Linked DNA regions of Homo sapiens: region 1 is linked to region 2. Evidence: promoter capture Hi-C in human tissues and cell types (Jung and others, 2019). All regions are on one chromosome and are shown on one strand. Each heading gives the region's core, a stretch centred on a gene start or on the middle of the fragment in contact. The rest is flanking DNA. Distances are from core to core; before and after follow the strand shown. Region 1 has its middle 50 kb from the start of NPAP1. Region 2 holds the start of NPAP1 (nuclear pore associated protein 1).

Evidence for each region. Contacts are between HindIII fragments. The study calls those that stand out against the background at their distance.
Region 1: a contact is called between a fragment that was not itself captured here and the fragment with the promoter of NPAP1 in region 2, in 4 of the 25 tissues and cell types used here (dorsolateral prefrontal cortex, mesenchymal stem cells, pancreas and 1 more).

What each region holds. Positions count from the first base shown.
Region 1 is chr15:24,723,498-24,728,552 of GRCh38, forward strand. No RefSeq gene overlaps it. Among named protein-coding and RNA genes, the nearest start is that of NPAP1, 50 kb to the left of the region's middle. The HindIII fragment of the contact is 3,912 bases long and covers 607-4,518 here.
Region 2 is chr15:24,673,143-24,678,695 of GRCh38, forward strand. It overlaps NPAP1 (nuclear pore associated protein 1), which reads left to right and starts at 2,633. Exons shown (of 1, transcript NM_018958.3): 1 at 2,633-5,553. The coding sequence starts at 2,726. The HindIII fragment of the contact is 8,790 bases long and covers 1-5,553 here.

The DNA.
Region 1 (5,055 bases), core at 1,313-3,812, 50 kb after region 2:
ATCCTTTCAGTTGATCACCTGGTTTTTGTTCTTTAGTCTATAATATAGCACATTACCTTAACTGTTTTTATGCTTGGAACCAAACTGTATTCTTGGGATAAATACACTTGGTTATAGTGAATGATCCTGTTTTTATGTTGCTGTGTTTGGTTTTCTAGTATTTTTGTTTAGGTTAATGCCACAATATTCATAAAGTTATTTGCCTGTGATTTTCTATTCTTGTAACATATGTGTCTAGTGGTAGTAAACTGGCCTCATAGAATGCATTTGTTCTCCTCTCTGTTTGTTTGTTACAAGAACAAGCTTAGCACAACTGATGTTAATGTTGGAGACAGCATGGCCAAGATGATTTCAAAGTTGATTCAGAAGACATTTATCTGAATGGGAAAAATTTTAGGAATACTTTTGTCAGTGTACTTTGCTTATATTTTCCATCTCCTATAACTGCAGAACTGACATAAGGCAAATATCCATTTATTGATTTCAATTCCTTTGGATACATACCTAGAAGTGTGACTGCTAGGTCCTATAGTAGTTCCATTTTTAGTTTTTGGAGGAAACTTCATACTGTTTTTCATAATAGCTGTACTAATTTGCATGCTGTTATAAGAATTTGCTTTCTTATAACAGTATAAGAAAGTTGCCTTTTGCACATTTGCAAAGTTGAAATAAATTTTTTCAGTAATAATAAGACAAAATTCTAAGTGATAAATATTTGTGTTATACTTTGTCAATGGTTTTATTCTTTCATTGTGACATATAAAGTAATGGTGCATCTTACAACTAATGCAAATGATATATCTTGCAATTTACTTAGACAACACTGTCAGTATTAACAAATATTGGCTTAATGGTTGGTATATAACTGCTATTAGTCTACATGCTTTATGTATTATTAGTTCATTCAAGCTTCACAGAGTCTCAAGTGGTAGGCATTATTACCACTCCTATGGTCCAGTTCCAATCTGAGGTAAAGTTCCGTAAGAAAGAAATAGAAGCTTGAGATTAACTCAGTCTATCTCCAGAGTCAGTGCTCACATCAACTATGTTAGCATATCTTTTCTCCTGTATGGTAATTACTCTCTAGGTCTAGTTTCAGAAATCTTACTCTACCTCATGGTCATTAAGTTACTTTTCTAAGTTAAACTCTAAAAACTGTAACAAATTACTTTTACATTTAGGTCAATGATCTACCTGGAATTGAATTTTTGTGAAATGTGAGATCAAAAGTCAGATTTTAATTTCACTCTATGGATATTTAATTTCCTAGAATATTTGTTCAAAATGTTATTTTCCCCCATTGGTCTTATGTATAATTCACTTGTTTGTATATGCACATGCCTTTATTCAGTTCTCTTTTCTCTTTTTCATTTACTTATTTCCCTTTGTGCAAATGCCACTGTCTTAGTTAATGAAAGACTTCACTTAACACAAGTATTTTCCATCCAGAGCCCTGTCTCTTCATCACTGTGCTGTTCTGTAATGAAGACAGAGAAGAGTGAAAACTGCATGTCTTGTACCTACACAAATATTCCCAGCTGTGCCTCCAATAAAGAGTAGGGTTTAGGATTTTAGAACATTGCTGTTGACACTTATGTCTCTAATGCCCTTGTAAATCTTAGGCAATCCTTCCAACTCCACTCACCCTATATTTTAGAACATTCTCAGTTAATTTTATTTGATGTCACCCTCACCCATCTTCATTTTCCTTTTCTGCTTTTCTGGAGCCCTAGGGAATTTCCTAAAGGCTCCCCAGTGACAGCCAGGCATGGCAAGAACCAAGAAAGGTACCCCTGAATCCTCCTGGACAAGTAGAGACAACACAGTGGCCAAGATCTTCCTTCTCCAGACAATGTCCGCCAAGGACAGGGCCACAGCCTGTGCAGCTAAGCCCAGATCCTCTAGGTAGGGTCTGCATGTCCAGCTGCTTCCTTCCCTCCCTTTGGGTTCAGTTGGGGAAGTCAGCCCTTTGGTATAAAGCAAAAGTTTGTTCCAAAACCATTCTGCTTACTGACCAAGGAAACATTACTGCTTCACACCTTGCCTTGTAATATTATATTAGTTCTTTTTATTATTATTATTATACTTTAAGCTTTAGGGTACATGTGCACAACGTGCAGGTTTGTTGCATATGTATACATGTGCCATGTTGGTGTGCTGCACCCATTAACTCGTCATTTAGCATTAGGTATATCTCCTAATGCTATCCCTCCCCCCTCCCCCCACCACACAACAGGCCCTGGTGTGTGATGTTCCCCTTCCTGTGTCCCTGCATGCTCATTGTTCAATTCCCACCTATGAGTGAGAACATGCGGTGTTGGTTTTTTGTCCTTTCGATAGTTTGCTGAGAATGATGGTTTCCAGCTTCATCCATGTCCCTACAAAGGACATGAACTCATCATTTGTTATGGCTGCATAGTATTCCATGGTGTATATGTGCCACATTTTCTTAATCCAGTCTATCATTGTTGGACATTTGGGTTGGTTCCAAGTCTTTGCTATTGTGAATAGTGCTGCAATAAACATACATGTGCATGTGTCTTTATAGCAGCATGATTTATAATCCTTTGGGTATATACCCAGTAATGGGATGGCTGGGTCAAATGGTATTTCTAGTTCTAGATCCCTGAGGAATCGCCACACCGACTTCCACAATGGTCGAACTAGTTTACAGTCCCACCAACAGTGTAAAAGTGTTCCTATTTCTCCACATCCTCTCCAGCACCTGTTGTTTCCTGACTTTTTAATGATTGCCATTCCAACTGGTGTGAGATGGTATCTCATTGTGGTTTTGATTTGCATTTCTCTGATGGCCAGTGATGATGAGCATTTTTTCATGTGTTTTTTGGCTGCATAAAAGTCTTCTTTTGAGAAGTGTCTGTTCATATCCTTCACCCACTTTTTGACGGGGTTGTTTGTTTTTTTCTTGTAAATTTGTTTGAGTTCATTGTAGATTCTGGATATTAGCCCTTTGTCAGATGAGTAGGTTGCAAAAATTTTCTCCCATTCTGTAGGTTGCCTGTTCACTCTGATGGTGGTTTCTTTTGCTGTGCAGAAGCTCTTTAGTTTAATTAGATCCCATTTGTCAATTTTGGCTTTTGTTGCCATTGCTTTTGCTATTTTAGACATGAAGTCCTTGCCCATGCCTAAAATTTGAAAATATTTTTAACATTTGTTTATTAATTTTTTTTGGCCATACAAACTTTATCTACAGTGTTTTATTTTTGTATTGTATATTAATGCCTTCTGTATTTAATAATGCTACCATAAATGTATTTAATAATGCTACCATACCAAAAGGCATATATTAATGCCTTTTGTATTTAATAATGCTACCATAAAATGTATTTAATAATGCTACCGTAATAACTTTTCAAAATCGCTTTTTAATCATTTTCATCTTTTCAAGCATCAGTCTTTCCTAAATTGAATGGAAATATCACTTGTTTTAGGGAAGACAGATGGTACATATTCTCTGTATTTGCCATAAATATCCTCTGAAATACCTCTGGTTGTGAAGAAGAGACTTGTCTAGCAGTCACAAGGCAAAATGTATCCACAGCCTGTTGCTTTAAAAGAGCTCTGAATGTTTTCATTGTATGGCCTAGCTTATTCTAATTTTGAGAGATTCACAAAGGCATTAACTTATATAGACAGAACACTGAGATGTAGACATCATCTAAATGCAGACACCAGTCACTTCTTTACTGTACAAATATGAACTTCATTGTACTGCTTGCAAGAAATGCAGACACCAGCCACTTCTTCACTGTGCAGATATGAACTTCATCATACTGCTTGCAGGAAAATGCAAGATGGCAGTGTCATATAAAGTTGCCTTTTTGTGGTCAAGAATAAGACAAAATTGTTGAAGGCTAAGTTCACCCAAATGGCTTCTTCTTGTGTCTGGATTTTTTCCATAGTTCTTTGATCCATGTGCCACATCAGTGATGATGGTACATAGCAAAGCTATCTCATGGCAGCTGGCATGAATACTCTTTCCCCTTCCTAGCACTGGACATGGAGAATGGCTTGATGAAACTCAGCCACCTTGTTCTCCAGACTCTCAGTTCCACCTTCTCAACTCGAGTGTCTTCCAAGGTCCTTGCCACACCCACAGCCTGGAAACTCAACCATAACCCAAGGCTACAGTAGGACTCACATCACTATTTCTCATCTCTCAGGGATAACTGTCCTTTTTTAAAAAAAAAAATGTTCAGGCATTTGCAAACCATGGATTCCTATACCTGTGAATTTTTTGTTTTCACATGGCATAAGGAATATCTAGTCCCTATTAGTTTCTTGATGACATTTTGGTTCATTTGTGCAATGAATCCACCATAAGTGTACTCCGAACTGTATGTTTCTACTAGGCAATATTAAGACGTGTAAAAAGAGATGTGAGTCAAACCCATAGAGACAGACAAGTTAACTGACCCACGTAACATTAAAAGGGAGGTGTAATAGCAACAACACAACAAAGGTTGCTGCCTGGGCATTAGAAGTAGAACACCACACCCAAATGGCTAAAACTAGTGGCCAGAGATAAGAACTTAGAGGCATCTCTGTCACCTAGCAGGCTGAGTTTCCACCTTCCTGCTGCTTTCTTTAAACATGCCATTCAGGCATTTGCCCGTGAACTTGAAGTAACATACCCATTATTTCCTAATATATACCCCAGCTGCCGCTCTCCTCGCTTTCTTTCTCTCTTTGTCTCTCTCTGACCGTAGGATGGAGGACTGCCCTCCTGACTCATTGTGCCCTTCCTGGCAGGATCTGTAAGTAAAAATCTTTGAACTTATTTGTTTTGGGGGCTACCCTAGACCAGATTTTCCCCAGGACACTAAGGAGAACACAGGTTGAGCTCCCAACATCAAAGCCATGGTCAGGCAGGAATAAACTGGACACAGGTCAGACAAGAGCCACAAGGGTGTCTGCCAGTATCAATGTTTTCCATGTAAGGGACACCTGGTCACAGGTCTTACAGCTAGGCGTTAGAACGTCTACCAGGTAAGAGAAGTAGCCTGTGAAAGACACAGTATAAACACCCACATC
Region 2 (5,553 bases), core at 1,383-3,882:
ATACAAAGCTAGCCACCCAGAGATTCATTTGATATGACTGGAGATTGGTGCTTTAAAAAATTATTAAATTACAAGTAATCTCACCTGGCAACTATAAATTGTTGCTATTATCACAGTATTTATATAATTATTAAATTAAATTTTTGGAAAATATTTTGCCTTGACAAATTTCATCTCAACATGTTTGCGTCTGCCAAGTCAAAAGATCTCAGAATAATCAGTTGCCATCTAATGTTATTTTGCCTCACAAACACAAGGAAGATTTTATATTCAAAAAAAGCATCTATTCCCATTTGACAAGAAAAATAAAGAGGTGGATTTTTCTGGAATACCCTTGTCCAAATTTCCTTTTATTGTCCTGAAGCCCCAATATTCATTATTTGTTTAATGCATTTTTCCTGTTTGGGGGAAAATGCTGTAATTTATTGTTTTCAAATAAGCCTGACATTTGATTTTGTTTCAGAGTTCTTGTAGGAAATCTTTGTCCAAAACTTGTACCAGATTGTTCTTTTTGTTTAAACAAATAAAATCAAGAGATTATTTTTTATTAAACTCTCCTCAAATGATATCAAGAGATTACAGTTAAATGCCATAATTGTAAACAATTTCTCGGTTCCCTGAGAGGTTAGGAAGGACTTATAATATGTCTCCTCTTTTTAAACAGAATTTGGGTCTGAGCAAAACTTTGTGTCCTAGAAACATAAGCTTTGTTGGGTATGGAAGCCCACATTTACTCTGACATAGTATAAAATATATGAACAGGGGGATAAAAAGGATTTTGTAGTATGTTAACTAGGTTTGATGTTATTTTAAATCGATTTTTAAACTAAAAAATACATTAAAATATTTTTACTGATCTCTGATTCTTGGTTCTGAACCTTCCACATGTCCTATGTCTGGCACACAACATTAGCCCAAAGAGAGCAAAGCAGTCCAGTTAAATAAACCAAAGAAACAAGATTAAAACTAGATAAGGTCATGTGTAGGATTTTCCAAATCTTTCTTGTCATGCTGAAACTTCCAGCTCTTAAAACAGTAACACATATTTCCTTTGTCCTAAAAACCAATATTAAGTCTCCTTCCTTGGGCATAAGAATATGGATAGTTATACTTAGGTGACAGTAATGTGTGGTAAAGAGTGGGCCTTGCTGGCATGCGGACAATGACCAAATTGTATTGATCATATTTTAATCGAATACATTGCTCCACTACTGACTTGCAAATACATGATGAATTTGCTTTCTAACATATTCCAAGAAGGCCAGAGAACTGGCTTATCCATTTGGATTAATCCACTGGTGAATTTCTTTCGGGATAGGCCAAAATGGATCTGGACTATAATCTTTACATATTTAGATCCTTCAAACTAGACCAAAAAGGAAATCTGGGCTGCAAGGCTCAATTAGAAGAACAGTGTGGGATGCTGCTTTGCTGACTATTGGGGGTCGCTGCCCCATGTCTTCAGAGGAGACTGGAGCCCAGTGCCTGCCATGACCAACTTATGAGGTGAAGTAAGGGCTTCCCCCTAGGAACGCATGTGCTTAATACAGATGTGCTGTGTGCTAGGTACCCTAAGGACTACAGGAAATAATGAGAATACATGATGTGTCCATAACAAGGAGGCACACAGGCCACGGCACCAGCTCTGGAATCACACAGCCCAGGTTCGAAGCCTGGCTAGGCCACTGTCATATCAATGACCCAAGGAGCAAGCAGCCTAAGGCTTAAATGTTGTTGCTGTTGTTTGTTGTGGTTTTTTGTTTTTGTTTTTGTTTGAGACAAGAGTTTTGCTCTGTTCCCCCAGGCTGGAGTGCAGTGAGGTGATCTCAGCTCACTGCAACCTCCACCTCCCGCTTTCAAGCGATTCTCCTGCCTCAGCCTCCCTAGTAGCTGGGATTACAAGTGCGTGCCACCACGCTCAGTTAATTTTTGTATTTTTAGTAGAGATGGGGTTTCACCATGGTGGTCAGGCTGGTCTCGAACTCCTGACCTCAGGTGATCCACCCGCCTTGGCCTCCCAAAGTGCTGGGATTAAAGGCGTGAGCCACCGCGCCCAGCCTTAAATGTTGTTTAAAACAAATTTGTGAAAAGAAGTGAAGAGGCCCTGCCTGCCAGGAAGAGATGTGGTAGGGCGTAGCATCTAGTCAGGACAAGGCACCACGTCCCCTCCTCGGAAACCCTCACGGCCTGGCTGGTGACCCTGGCGCCACAGAGACGGCACACCTGGCTCCAGGCAGCACAGAGCACTGCCAAGGTCCTAGAGGAGGCTGGCAGGATATAGGTTGTCCTGTGCTTAACTTGAAGCAGATGTGCCCTCTGTGAACCGGGGAATGGGGACGGCCGACACAGGGCCACTGCGTGCAACAGCGCCGGGCCAGGGCTAAGGAACAGGCAGAGCCGGCGCCCAGGTGACAAGAGCTCTGGCGATGGGCCCGCAGGCCCCAGCAGTTCCCTCATAGAGGCCACGCGGTGCAACACCTGCCACCGGCAGCGGGGCTTCCGGGGGTCCTGGGGCAGCTGGGGCCGACGGGGCGTCGCCCTTTGCCCTCTGACCCCTGCCTTTTGCGCCCCCGCTGGCGCTCCCTGGTTCTGTGAGGAACCTCGCGGCGGCGTCGCAGGCGTAGAGCCAGTCAGTTTGTGCTTGGTCGCCAGAGGAGGCGGTGGCTGAGGAGAGTTGAGTCCACTGCTGACCCTGTTTTACGGTAGGAGGCACGGCTAGCTCTAAATGGGCAATTTACTTAGTAAATTTAGACCCGGGTGCCGCCGCCGGCCCCTGCCAGGGCCAGGGCGTGGCGCCCCCGCTCCCCTGTCCCGGGACGCCTCCCCGCCCGGTCGGGCTCACTCTGTACCCACCCCGCGCCCTTTCCGCGGCCTGTTCCGCCGGAACGCCCGTCGCAGGCCTTCAGCAGCCAGCATCTTCGTCGCCCCTAAGAGGCCGTGTCCTCTCCCTCGGGCTGCGGCCGCCCCTCTGGGGGTCCTGCCGGCTGTGGGTTGGGGGCTGGCCATCAGGAAGACACCCATGCTGCCTGCTCGGAACCCCCCGAGGTTTGGACACCCCAGTTCCGTAAGGATCCCTCCTCCCAGCCGCATGTTCACTCTCCTGCTGCCTTCACCACGTGAGCCGGCGGTCAAGGCCAGGAAGCCCATCCCAGCCACTCTCCTGGAGGAGACCGAGGTGTGGGCCCAAGAAGGGCCCAGAAGAGTGAAGAAGGATGAGGATCCGGTGCAGATCGAAGGGGAGGATGACGAGAAAAGGACCCCCCTTAGCAGCGGAGAAGCATCGTCCACATCCAGGTCCCAGGGCACCCAGGGAGACGTGGCCTCCTTCAGATGCAGCCCTGGGCCTCTGGAGGGAAATGTCTACCACAAGTTCTCAGAAAACAGCATGAGTGAGAAGGCCCAGGCGTCTCCAGCGAGCTCCTGCTTGGAAGGCCCTGCCATGCCCAGCACACACAGCCAGGCCGGATGTGCCCGGCATCTTGGAAAGCCTGATCCGGATGCAACAGCGCCCCCTGAGCCAGCCGTTGGCTGCTCCCTGCTGCAGCAGAAGTTGGCTGCGGAAGTGCTGAATGAAGAGCCACCGCCCAGCTCCCTAGGCTTGCCGATTCCGCTGATGTCCGGAAAGAGGATGCCTGATGAGAAGCCTTTCTGTATTCCTCCAAGGAGCGCTGCTCCTCCCAGAGCTGCCCGCAACAGGCCCTGCAAAAGGAAAATGTCGATTCCATTGCTGCTGCCGCTGCCCCCTTCACTGCCATTGCTGTGGGATCGAGGTGAGCTTCCCCCACCTGCTAAGCTCCCCTGCCTGTCTGTTGAGGGAGACCTACACACCTTGGAGAAGAGCCCTGAGTATAAAAGGAATAGCAGAATCTTGGAGGATAAAACAGAGACCATGACAAACAGCAGCATCACCCAGCCTGCCCCTTCTTTCTCCCAACCTGTGCAGACCACAGACTCCCTGCCCCTGACCACTTACACTTCCCAGGTCTCAGCTCCTTTGCCCATCCCTGACTTGGCTGACCTGGCTACTGGACCCCTCATCCTGCCTATCCCTCCACTTTCCACCACACCAAAAATGGATGAGAAAATAGCATTCACAATCCCTAACTCTCCTCTGGCTCTTCCTGCTGACCTTGTTCCCATTTTGGGTGATCAGTCTAATGAGAAAGGAGGCTCTTATAATTCAGTCGTAGGAGCAGCGCCTCTCACTTCTGACCCCCCAACACCTCCTAGCTCCACACCCTCCTTCAAGCCTCCCGTCACAAGGGAGTCCCCAATATCTATGTGTGTGGATTCCCCTCCTCCTCTTTCCTTCCTGACTCTTCTTCCAGTCCCTTCCACCGGGACCTCAGTTATCACCAGCAAGCCTATGAATTCCACGTCAGTCATTTCCACTGTCACAACAAACGCATCTGCCCACCTAACCTCACAGACTGCGGTAGACCCTGAAGTAGTTAATATGGATACTACTGCCCCATCTCAGGTTGTTATTTTCACATCTTCCCTAAGCTCCAGAGTGAGCTCTCTCCCAAATTCCCAAATACATTGCAGTGCAGAGCAGAGGCACCCGGGAAAGACATCAGTCTACACATCCCCACTTCCATTTATATTCCACAATACCACCCCAAGTTTTAACCAACTCTTTGGAAAAGAAGCCACCCCTCAGCCCAAATTTGAGGCTCCTGATGGGCAGCCGCAGAAAGCTTCTCTCCCCAGTGCCTGTGTTTTCCTGAGCCTTCCCATCATTCCTCCTCCAGACACCTCCACTTTAGTGAACAGTGCCTCTACAGCATCATCATCCAAACCTCCCATTGAAACCAATGCTATGCATACCACTCCTCCTTCCAAGGCTGTCATCTTGCAGTCTGCCTCTGTCTCCAAGAAGTACCTCCCATTTTACCTGGGGCTTCCTGGTTCTGGGAACACACAACCCAGCGGCAACACTGCCTCAGTCCAAGGCTCCACCAGTTTGCCTGCACAGTCAGTCAGGGCACCAGCTACAGCTTCCAACCATCCTTTAAATCCAGGAGCCACCCCTCAACCCAAATTTGGGGCCCCTGATGGGCCGCAGCAGAAAACCTCTCTCCCCAGTGCCCATGATTTCCTGAGCCTTCCTATCATGGTTCCTCCAGACACCTCCACTTTAGTGAGCAGTGCCTCTGCAGCATCGTTATCCAAGCCTGCCATTGACACCAGTGACATGAATACCACCCCTCCTTCCAAAACTGTCATCTTGCAGTCTACCTTTGTCTCCAGGAAGGAGGAGTACATCCGATTTTATATGGGGCTTCCTGGTTCTGGGAACACACTACACAGTGACAGCATTGCCTCAGCCCAAGTCTCCACCAGTTTTCCTGCACAGGCAGATAGGAGACCAACCACAACTTCCAGCCATCCTTTAAATACAGGATCCATCTCTCATTCCACACTTGGGGCCACTGATGGGCAGCAGAAGTCTGACAGTTCTTTTATTCTGGGGAATCCAGCAACCCCAGCACCAGTTATAGGCTTAACATCTCCTTCAGTCCAGCCACTGAGTGGCAGCATAATTCCACC